Regions from separate parts of the Homo sapiens genome. Here region 2 is linked to region 1. Evidence: promoter capture Hi-C in 16 types of primary human blood cells and fetal thymus (Javierre and others, 2016). All regions are on one chromosome and are shown on one strand. The core of a region is centred on a gene start or on the middle of the fragment in contact, and the rest is flanking DNA. Distances in the headings are between cores, read along the strand shown.

What was found. The method cuts DNA at HindIII sites, captures the fragments that hold promoters and counts their contacts. A CHiCAGO score of 5 or more calls a contact.
Region 2: a fragment that was not itself captured here is called in contact with the fragment with the promoter of TEX14 in region 1 in 2 of 17 cell types (M0 macrophages and monocytes); the score reaches 5.2 in M0 macrophages.

The regions. Positions count from the first base shown.
Region 1 is chr17:58,687,477-58,693,322 of GRCh38, reverse strand. It overlaps TEX14 (testis expressed 14, intercellular bridge forming factor), which reads left to right and starts at 1,278. Exons shown (of 32, transcript NM_031272.5): 1 at 1,278-1,384. It overlaps IGBP1C (IGBP1 family member C), which reads left to right and starts at 1,278. Exons shown (of 2, transcript NM_001395966.1): 1 at 1,278-1,384. It overlaps RAD51C (RAD51 paralog C), which reads right to left and starts at 721. Exons shown (of 9, transcript NM_058216.3): 1 at 535-721. The coding sequence starts at 679. RefSeq lists enhancers at 364-533, 864-963. The HindIII fragment of the contact is 6,974 bases long and covers 1-5,846 here.
Region 2 is chr17:58,944,757-58,950,602 of GRCh38, reverse strand. All of the region lies in intron 1 of PPM1E (protein phosphatase, Mg2+/Mn2+ dependent 1E), which reads right to left. Among named protein-coding and RNA genes, the nearest start is that of TRIM37, 160 kb to the left of the region's middle. The HindIII fragment of the contact is 708 bases long and covers 2,212-2,919 here.

The DNA of each region.
Region 1 (5,846 bases), core at 29-2,528:
TTAATTACGTAAGAGAATATTCTTTCTATGCTTCCTCAAGATTCCGGGGATTCTACTCTCTTTCTCATTCTTAGTGTCTCTAGTCCTACACAAAATCCTGCATTTCTGAAATTTAACCCTTACCCCTTGGATCTTGGAACAGCAAAAATTAGACAACCAATTCTGACTCCAGTATTTCCTAACCCAGTTAGCATGAAAAGTTACCTAAGCTCCCCAAGATATCAGTTCTCTCATCCATATACTGAATATAATAATCTACGTAAGCGGGTTGAGGGTTAAATGAGACAATCCTCAAAGCATTCAGCAGGCATTGCCAGAGGAAAAGCAATTAGTAAATGTTTTCACGACCACAGTTCTCCTAACCATTCAGACAACTTGTAAGTGGAGTCGAGGAGCTCTTTCACGCTGTAAACATGGACGTGGGAGGAAGCAGAATCTAACGGAGACTGGGCTGAAGGCCGAGGCGAGAGAACGAAGACTGAGGCGGCGCTGACGGCGGCCGGTGTGCCTCAGCTTGCCATCAGGAGTCGTTACCTTTGCTAAGCTCGGAGGGTTTCACCTCTAGGAGTTCCTCAGCAGTCTGGAACCCCGCAGACACCAGCTTCACCCGCACCGCTGGAGACAGCGGGAAACTCACCAAATCCCGCTGCATTTCAAAGCGGAACGTCTTCCCGCGCATCGCAGGCTCACCTGCTAACCCCGGAGCAGCCAAACTCCGCACGCCCTCGCTGGGGCGTGCGGCGTGACGTCAGACGTAAAGCGGAAGGGGCCGGCTCTGCGGCCTGGCCGCACGGGGCTCCGGGCCTTGCAGCTTTGCGCAGTCTTGTAAATTTTCACACTTATGCACCATTCCGTTTTGATTCCCCAAAATCCCATTTAGAGATTCCTCATCAAATGTACACCCTGACTGTAAAACGATGGACGGAGACCATAGGACGGAGAGCCAGGCCCAGTGGGTTCTCCACGCCACATTTCCTTGCCTCCACCGTGGCCTGTTAGGTGAAGCCTCAGAGTCATTAATAGGAATGATCTCGAGTGGGAGTAGTGAGCGTAACGGGCACACACTAGCCAGTTACCATTATTTTGGTGTGAAAAGCTCAGGGAACAATCATTAGAATTAATCTGCGTGCTCTTTGTAGAGTTGCAGTCTCTTGGCTCTTCCCGCTGACCGTCCCCCTTTTCTGACCCCCCCCCCCCGCAACGACCACATTGCTTTTCCCGCCCTCGCGAGGGATTGTGGGCCAGCCCCCAACGGCCGCTGGGAGGGATCAGTCCGCATTCCCCGCACCCACCCACGTCTTCCCGGGAGTCGTATCCCGAGCATGGAGGTTACTGAGACCGTTATTTCTTCATGGCCTGCCTAGCTTAAGCAGTAGCTGGAAAAGTAAGCAACTAATGTCCCCATTAGTGTGTCTGGGCTCCTGGGGTCCTGAGAAGGAGGGGCTGGGCTACACAAGAGCTCCTTTTGTGGTACAGACTTGGGAAGGGGTGTTCAAGCAGTGGTAGTGACCGCCTCTAAATTACAGAACTTCGGGGAGGAAGGCAAGCAGTTTAGAAGGTGGTTTATGAGTTCCTTCCTTGCCTAGGTGAGTGTAACTTATTTAGCAGGGGGTAACTTATTCCCTACCTATTGGCGATTTTTTTTTTTTTTTTTTTGAGACAGAGTCTCACTGTGTTGCCCATGATGGAGTGCAGTGGCACGATGTCGGCTCACTGCAACCTTCGCCTCCCGGGTTCAAGTGAGTCTCCTGCCTCAGCCTCTTGAGTACCTGGGATTACAGGCGCACGCCACCATGCCCGGCTAATTTTTGTATTATTATTAGAGAAGGGGTTTCACCATATTGGCCAGGCTGGTCTCGAACTCCTGACCTCGTGATCCGCCTGCCTCGGCCTCCCAAAATGCTGGGAGTACAGGCGTGAGCCACCGCGCCCGGCCCTGTTGGCAATGATTCTTAGTCTTGACTTTTCTTCCCAGCTTAGAAGAACTTTCTAAATATTGCAAATCAGAGCCCTCTACATACTTAGATCTAAAAAAGGAAACAACGTATGTTGAGCACTTTAGCAAATCCCACACATTTCAAATGGCCATAGCCATGCCAAAAGGAAGATAAGGACATGGAAGCTCAGCATATAGTTTAATATCAATTCTGATAAAAGAAAAAAAGCTGGCCGGGCGCAGTGGCTCGTGCCTGTAATCCCAGCACTTTGGGAGGTCGAGGCAGGTGGATCTCTTTGAGCTCATGAGTTTGAGACCAGCCTCGACAACATGGCGAAACACTGTCTGTACCAAAAGTACAAAAAATTAGCCGGGCATGGTGGCATGCACCGGTCGTCCCAGCTACTCAGAAGTCTGTGGTGGGAGGATCCCTTCAGCCTGGGAGTGAGCTATGATCACGCCACTGCACTCCAGCTTGGGTGATAGAGTGAAACCCTGTCTCAAACAAACAAAACACCTCAGCACAGTTTTCTTAAAGCCAAGATTCAAACCTAGCATCCTTTTTACTACCCCGAGCTATTAAGATTTTGAGTCCCTACTGGCGGGGAGAATACGAGAAGCATTTATACCCCATTTGGTAGGTCAAAGAAAGTCTTGTAGGACTGGCCAAAATGTGGTTGGCCACTCAACCCATTGCTTAACTTCTAATATGGTCTATATTTGAGCGCTCAGTGGATGCATAAATACTATCTTCAGGGAGATTTCATGCTTATGCTTATAAAGCACCCAGATTCTTGGGTGAAGAAAAAACATGGTATTACCACATTCAACAATAAGTCTTCAGTTAGTTTGGTCAAACTCAGTGGAATCAGTCGTGTTTAGAATTTCTTTCGTTGACAGTGGAAAGTTCAAAACTACTTTGGCCTGGCACAGTGGCTTAAGCCTGGAATCCAAGCACTTTGGGAGGCCAAAGAGGGCACATCGCTTGATCTCAGGAGTTTGAGACCAGCCTGGGCAACAGGGCAAAACCCCATCTCTACAAAAAATACAAAAATTAGCCAGCATGGTGGTACATGCCTCTAGTCCCAGCTACTTGGGAGGCTGAGGTGGGAGAACCAATTGAGCCCGGGAGGTTGAGGTTGCAGTGAGCTGAGATTGCGTAACTCCACTCCAATCTGGGCGACAGAGCGAGACTCCATCTCAAAAACAAAACAAAGCAAAATAAAAAAAACAAAAAAACCCCCACTCAACTCTATCTATAGCTGTATAATTTAAGTGCTATTAATATCTTCTGCAGATCACAAGGTCAGGAGATCGAGACCATCCTGGCTAACATGATGAAACCCCGTCTCTACTAAAAATACAAAAAATTAGCTGGGTGCGGTGGTGGGCGCCTGTAGTCCCAGCTACTCGGGAGGCTGAGGCAGGAGAATTGCATGAACCCAGGAGGCGGAGCTTGCAGTGAGCCTAGATCACGCCACCACATTCCAGCCTGGGCGACAGAGCGAGACTCCATCTCAGAAAAAAAAAAAAAAAAAATCTTCTGGCCCTTGCCTATAATAATTATTTTCATCATCATTCTTAAGATGTCTTTAATGCAATTTGCTCTGTAGTCATGCTTTCAAACTGGGATCCAGGTTTTTGAAACCACGCACTAGGAACTAAACAAAGCTATGGGATAAATATGGAAGGTGCACCTTCTTGTGTAATCACTTTTCTCAAAAAAAATCTTTCAGGGAGGGAAGAGTTAAATGATTTACCTAAGTCATTTGAAATGGTTTATATTAAGCAGACATTACATCTGTGTAGTGTGGATAAATCATTAAAATTTTTGAAAAAGAAAATAAACTTTAATAAAACATGGGGTAGGCCGGGCACGGTGGCTCACTCCTGTAATCCTAGCACTTTGGGAGGCCAAGGCGGGTGGATCATGAGGTCAAGAGATCAAGACCATCCTGGCCAACATGACGAAACCCTGTCTCTACTAAAAACACAAAAATTAGCTGGGCATGTTGATGTGTGCCTATAGTCCCAGCTACTTAGGAGGCTGAGGCAGGAGAATAGCTTGAACCCAGGAGGCAGAGGTTGCAGTGAGTGAGATCAGGCCACTGCACTCTAGCCTGGAAACAGAGAGAGACTCCCTCTAAAAATAAATAAATTAGCTGAGCGTGATGTCTCACGCCTGTTTCACAGCACTTTGGGAGGCCGAGGTGGGCGGATCACGAGATCAGGAGATAGACTATCCTGGCTAACACGGTGAAACCCCATCTCTACTAAAAATACAAAAAATTAGCCGGGTGTGGTGGCAGGCACCTGTAGTCCCAGCTACTTGGGAGGCTGAGGCAGGAGAATGGTGTGAACCCGGGAGGCAGAGCTTGCAGTGAGCCAAGATCATGCCACTGCACTCCAGCCTCTGTGACAGAGCGAGACTCCATCTCAAAAAAAAATATATGTATAGAAATAAAAACAAAATGTGGGGGTAAAATGCAAATATAAAAATAAAATTTAAGAGAAAAGTATGAGGTCAGAGACACATCAGGCTTAAACTGGATACTTCAGTAATCTCCCAAACCCCCCCCGGGAATATGTTTTGGTTTTTCTTGCAACTTGAGGTTACTTCATGAAAAAATTTGAGAGACATTGCTATGGGCAAACCAGCATGGGCTGCGGAGTCACACAGATTTGGATTTGTATCACATGTCTGGAAGTTACCAACTATGTGACCTTCAGCAAGTTACTCAGTCTCCTCACCTGCAAGTAGAAGATAATATCTCCTGGGGTTTTGGTCAAGATTAAATTAACACATATACAGTACTTATCACACAAAAAAGTACATAATAAATCTGAGTCTGTTTCTCAGTTTTTACAGCATTCTAATGCGCATATTCAGTTGGAATAAATCCTTATAGAATACCTAGCTCAGCAGAATGCTAATGCTGAGACGTTTTTTAAAAATGTTTACAATTAGGCCAGACACTGTGGCTCACACCTGTAATCCCATCACTTTAGGAGGCTGAGGCTGGCAGATCACTTGAGGTCAGGAGTTCAAGACCAGCCTGGGCGATGTGGTAAAACCCCGTCTCTACTAAAAATACAAAATTAACTGGGGGTGGTGGAGGGTACCTATAGTCCCAGCTATTTGGAAGGCTGAGGCAGGAGAATTGCTGGAACATGGGAGGCAGAGATTGCAGTGAGCCGATATTATGACACTGTACTCCAGCCTGGGCGACAAGAGGAAAACTCAGTCTCAAAAACAAAACAAAACAAAAAAAGTCTATAATTGTAAAAGTGCCGAAGTAGAGTACTTTTATATATTTTATTTTCTTTGACTTGATCCACAGTAATCCTATGACTGGGGTCTACATTCAGGATTAGCACTCTGAAGACTAGATCACTAAAACAAGATTAAATATTGATTAAATGCTAGTTATGTGCCAGATGACAGGGTAAACAAGATAGATTCTCTGCCCTCATGGAGCTTATAATCTATCAGGATCTTTATTGAGTATTTCTGACATGTTGCATTTCTGACTTGTGTAGCTATCTTGATGTAATTCTAAGGGTAGGAAGGACCTATTGCTGTTAATGTCTATAGTTAACCTGTCAGAGTATTCCAATAACGAGACATTTTCAGGTTGACTAGGCTGTTTCTGGAGACATAGGAGAGGAATAATATGAAATTTTTGTTATAGCTGGGGAGAAGTTTATTTTTTTTTTAGCCTAAGAACATAGAACTTTAAAAAATGGTGACCACGGCCGGGTGCAGTGGCTCACACCTGTAATCCCAGCATTTTGGGAGGCTTAGGTGGGTGGATCACTTGAGATGAGTTCAAGACCAGCCTGGCCAACATGGTGAAACCCTGTCTCTATTAAAAATACAAAACTTAGGCAGGTGTGGGTAGAGCACCCG
Region 2 (5,846 bases), core at 1,316-3,815, 260 kb before region 1:
AGCATATAGGATTTATGGGACACCATTAAGCAAACAAATAATTGCATTATGGGCATTCCAGAAGGAGAAGAAAAGAGAGATGGTGTAGAAAATATACTTAATGACATAATAACTGAAAACTTCGTAGGTCTTGGGAGAGACACAGATATTCAGATCCAGGAAGCTGGAAAGTTCCCACATAGATTCAACCCAAACAAGTCTTCTCTAAGGCACATTATAGTCAAAAAATAATTTTTTTTTTGAGACAGAGTTTCATTCTTGTAGCCCAGGCTGGAGTGCAATGGTGCAATTTTCGGCTCACTGCAACCTGTCTCCTGGGTTCAAGCAATTCTCCTGCCTCAGCCTCCTGAGTAGCTTGGATTACAGGCACCCGCCATCATGCCCAGCTAATTTTTGTATTTTTAGTAGAGACAGGGTTTCACCATGTTGGTCAGGCTGGTCTCAAACTCTCAACTTCAGGTGATCCACCTGCCTTGGCCTTCCAAAGTGCTGGGAATACAGGCATGAGCCACCACACCCAGCTGTCAAATTGTCAAAAGGTAAAGACAAAGAAATAATTCTAAAAGAGAATTCCTTTTCAAAAGAAAAGCATCAAGTCATATATAAGGGAATCTCCATTAGACTAGCAGCAGCTTTCTCAGCAGAAACTTCACAGGCCAGGAGAGAAAGGGATGATATAGTCAAAGTACAGAAAGAAAAAAAACTCAGCTAGCCAAGAATATTATACCCAGGAAAGCTATTCTTCAAAAATGAAGGAGAAATAAAATCTTTCCTGGACAAGCAAAAAATAAGAGAATTCATCACCACTAGTCTAGTCCAAGAGAAATGTTCAAGGGCGTCTTACATCTGGAAATAAAAAGATGATAACTGCCCTCATGAAGATATGTGAAATTATAAAATTCACCAGGAGAGCCAACAGAGAAAGAAGAAAGAGAAAGGAATAAATAATCTTATCACTACAGAAAACAACCCAACCACAAAAATAAATAATAGGAGGGGAAGGAACAAAGGTTACACAAAATACTCAGAAAACAGTCAATAAATGTCTGGAGTAAGTCCTCATCTATTAATAATAATCTTGAATGTAAAATGGTTAAAATTCCCAATTAAAAGAAACTGGCTGAATGAATTTAAACAACAACAACAAAGCAAACAAACAAAAACAAAAACAAGACCCAACTATATGCTGTCTACAAGAAACTCACCTCATCTATAAGGATATACACAGACTGAAAGTGAAGGGATGGAAAGAGATATTCCACGCAAATGGAAACCAAAAGCAAGCAGGAAAAGCTATATTTATATCAGCTAAAACAGACTTTAAGTCGAAAGCTATAAAAAGAGACAAAGAAGGACATTATATAGTAATTAAGGAAACAATTCAAGAAGCTATAACAATTGTAAATATACATGCACCTAAGACCAGCACACCCAGATTCATAAAGAAAATACTATTAGATCTAAAGGAAGAGACAGATGCCAATACAATAACAGCTGGGGACTTCAACACCCAACTCAGCATTGCAGAAATCATCTAGGCAGAAAATCAACAAGGAAACATCAGATAAACCATAGCATAGCTCTAACAGACATTTACAGAACATTTCACCCAACAGCTGCAGAATATGCATTCTTTTTATTAGCAAATGGAACATTCTCCAGAATTGACTACATGTTAGGACACAGAACAAGGCTAAAAAAATTTTTTTAATTGAAGTCATATCAAGTATCTTATCTGACTATGGAATAAAACTAGAAACCAATAACAAGTGAAACATTCAAAATTACACAAATACATGGAAATTACACAACATGCTCCTAAACAACCAATGGGTGAAGAAAGAAATTAAGAAGGAAATTGACTAATTCCTTGAAACAAATGAAAACAGAAACACAACATACCAAAACCTATGGGACTCAGCCAAAGCAGTATATAATATGTCTCTGCAGTAAAAATATGTATGAAAATTGAAATTAAATTTTTAAAAACTTTCTGTGACCATAAGGCTCCAGCGTTAAACATTTTCTTTTTCATTGCCTTATCAGTGTAACTACTGGTACACAAATGATCTAATATAGTATACACTTTGATAAACATAAAAATTAAACTCTCATTGGAGAATTTTTTTTTAAAGGAAGAAACCTTACTTGCCAGATAAGAAATCTTATCTGCCATGGTCTTGGCCTCAATGAAATCTTGGACCTCAAGCTTCAGCCTAATACCATAATGGGATTAGACTTTGGGAAATCTTAGGGGATGTTGGGTGAGTGCATTTAGCACATGGGAAGGATGTGAATTGTGTGGCCAGAAAAGACTGTGGCAGATTATTTTTAAAAAGGCCGCAACAGCATTCCTGGTCCCGCATGCTATTTTAGAACTTTGCCATTCCCCATAAAAAAATAGAGTCTGTTTCCCTTCCTAATCTAAACATGGGTGAGGTGTGGTGACTACTCGGATGAAAAAAATGTAGCAAAAGTGATACTGTGTGACTTTTGAAGTTTGTTCATAAAAGGCCACGTGGCTTCCCCCGGCTTCCTCTTCTTTCTTCCTCTGTCTCCCTCTGGATACTTGCTCTTCATACTCAGCCAAGCCATCAAGCCATGAGGAAGCCCAAACTAGCCATGTGGAGAAACCACATGAACAGGCTCATGTGGATGTAGCCTGAGGTCTCCCAGGCAGTAGCCATTATCAATTGCTTGACATGTAAGTTCACAAGCCTTCAGATGATTCCAGTCCCCCAGCCTGAGTCTTCCAACAGAGACCCCAGTTGGAACAGAGATAAGGTGACCTTGCTTTACCCAGTTTTAATTTCTGACTGAAAGACATTGTGAGCATAATAAATAATTGTTTTATGCCACTAAGTTTTGTGGTAATTTGCAATACAGTGACAATAACTGAAAACCCAATATTTAGAAGCTTAGTAGAAGACAAGGGACCTATGAAGACTAAAGAGAAATGGCAAAATCTGTAAAAGGAGAACCGAGATAGTAGAGAGTATTTGAAGGAGGGAGCAGTGAACTCTGTCAATTGCTGAGAGGTCAAATAAGTGAAAAAAAAAAAAAAAAGGCCAGGTGCAGTGTCTCGTACCCGTAATCCCAGCCCCTTGGGAGGCCAAGGTGGGTGGATCACCTGAGACCAGGAATTCAAGACCAGCCTGGCTAACATGGTGAAACCCTGTCTCTACCAAAAATACAAAAACTAGCTGGGTGTGGTGGTGCACGCCTATAATCCCAGCTACTTGGGTGGCTGAGGCATGAGAATCGCCTGAACCCAAGAGGCAGAGGTTGCAGTGAGCTGAGATCACGTCACTGCACTCCAGCCTGGGTGATAAAGCAAGACTGTCTCAAAAAAAAAAAAAAAAAAAAAAAGGCCAGGAGTGTGGCTCACACTTGTAATCCCAACACTTTGGGAGACCGAGGTGGGCAGATCACACTCAAGCCTGGGCAACAGAGCAAGACTGTCTAAAAAAAAAAAAAAAAAAAAAAAAAAAACAGGAAAAAGGAAAATAACTTTCTGTTTAACAAAATGGTCAAATGGTGCTGGAAAAATTGGATATCCACATGCAAAATAATCAAGTTGGACCCCTTCCTTACACCATATACAAAAATTAATGCCAAATGCATCACAGACCTAAATGTAAAGCTAAAACTCATAAAACTCCTAAAAGAAAACTCCTAAAAGAGTAAATCTTCATGACCTTGGATTAGGCAATGGTTTTCTTAGCTCTGACACCAAAAGCACAAGCAGAAAAGAAAAAAAATATTAAATTGGACTACATCAAAATTTAAAACTTTTGTATCACAAATCAGTAAAGTGAAAAGACAACCCATAGACTGGTAGAAAATATTTGCAAATCTGCCAGGCATAGTGGCTTATGTCTGTAATTTTGGTACTTTGCAAGGGGGTAAGGTTGGGGCCAGGAGTTTGAGATCAGCCTGGGCAACTTAACAAGACCCTGTCTCAAAACAAACAACAACAAAATAGCTGGGTATGGTGGGCACACCTGTAGTCCCAGCTAATTGGGAGGCTGAGGCAGGAAGATCGCTTTAAGCCCAGAGTCCAAGGCTGCAGTGAGCCATAATCATCGTTATATTCCAGCCCGAGAGACAGAGAGACCCTGTCTCAAAACAAAACAAAAAATTGCAAATCATATATCTAATGAGACTGGTATCCCAAATATGTAACGAATCCTTATATTTCAATAATAAAAAGACAACCCAAAGGCTTTTTTCCAAAGAAGATATACAAATGGGCAATAAGCACATGAAAAGATGTGCAACATCTGTGACATAATTGGAAATAAATATTTGTCCTCCGCCTTGGTTCCTGACACAGAGCCCCTAAAACCCTTTTTATTTCCTGAGTGACGGGGTACTGGAAGCATCTTCTAATATTTAGTCTTTGAACCTGGTTTCTGACATAGAGCTTCTAAATCCCTTGGAATTTCCTGTATAGTCTATGAGTGCCTTTTGGTCTTATGAAGCAGTTCTTGGTGGGCTACTGGATAGCTTCAGGATGGCAACTGGGCATCAGAAAGATCAACCCATAATAAGAGGCCTGGAATATTCAACCCTATTCCCATTTTCTAGGGAAGGGAGAGAGATGGGAGATTGACTTAATAATTATTTGAACATGCCTACGTGATGAAGCCTCCATGCAAATCCTTAAAAGATGGGATTTTGGGAGCTTCTGGTTTGATGAACATAACTATGTGCTAGAAGGGTGGCATACCCCACCTCCAACAGAACCTATTATGTTTGAGACCCTTCCCCTTCAGGACCTCACCCTGTATATCTCTCTTTATCTGGCTGTTCATTTATATCCTTTATAATATCCTTTCACAAACCAGTAAACATAAGTGAATGTTTCCCTGAATTTTGTAAGACATTATAGCAAATTATTTAACTTCGGAGAAGGTTGTAGGAAACCTTGATTTATAACCAGTTGGTCAGAAGTTTGGGAGGTCCAGACTTTTAACTGGCATCTGAGGTGGGGCATCTTGCAGGACTGAGCCCGTTATCCTGTGGGATCTGTTGTAACTCCAGGCAATTAGTGTCAGAATTGAGTTAAATTGTAAGACACCTAATTGATGTCCAGGGAGAAATGGAGAATTGGTTGGTGGGAAAACCCCACACACTTTTAGTGTCAGAAGTGTGTGAGGCTGGGCAAGGTGGCTCACGCCTGTAATCCCAACACTTTGGGAGGCCAAGGCGGGACGATCACCTGAGGTCAGGAGTTCGAGACCAGCCTGGCCAACATGATGAAACCCCGTCTCTACTAAAAATACATAAGTTAGCTGAGTGTGGTGGCATGCCTGTAATCCCAGCTACTCGGGAGGCTGAGGCAGGAGAATCGCTTGAACCCAGGAGGTGGAGGTTGCAGTAAGCAGAGATCATGCCACTGCACTCCAGTCTGTATGACAGAGTGAGACTCAGTCTCGAAAAAAAAAAAAAAAGAAGTGTGTGACTGTACAGAAAAACAGGTTTTTTTCTTCCCCTTTTAACATCATTAGTCATTAGGGAAATGCTAATCAAAACCACAATGAGAAACCATTTCACATCCACTAGGATAGCTATAATAAAATAGCTATAACAAAAAAGACAATTAGTAATAACAGGTGTTGGCAACTATATGGATAAATGGAACTCTCATACATTCCTAGTGGAGATGTAAAGTGGTACAGCTGCTTTGGCACTTCCTTAACATTTTAAACATAAAGTTACCATATGGCCAGCCCAGCAATTCCACTCCTAGGTATACATGCATGAGAAATAAAAACATATATTCACAAAAAACTCATACATTAATGTGCACAGCAGCATTGTTTATAATCGCCAAATAGTAA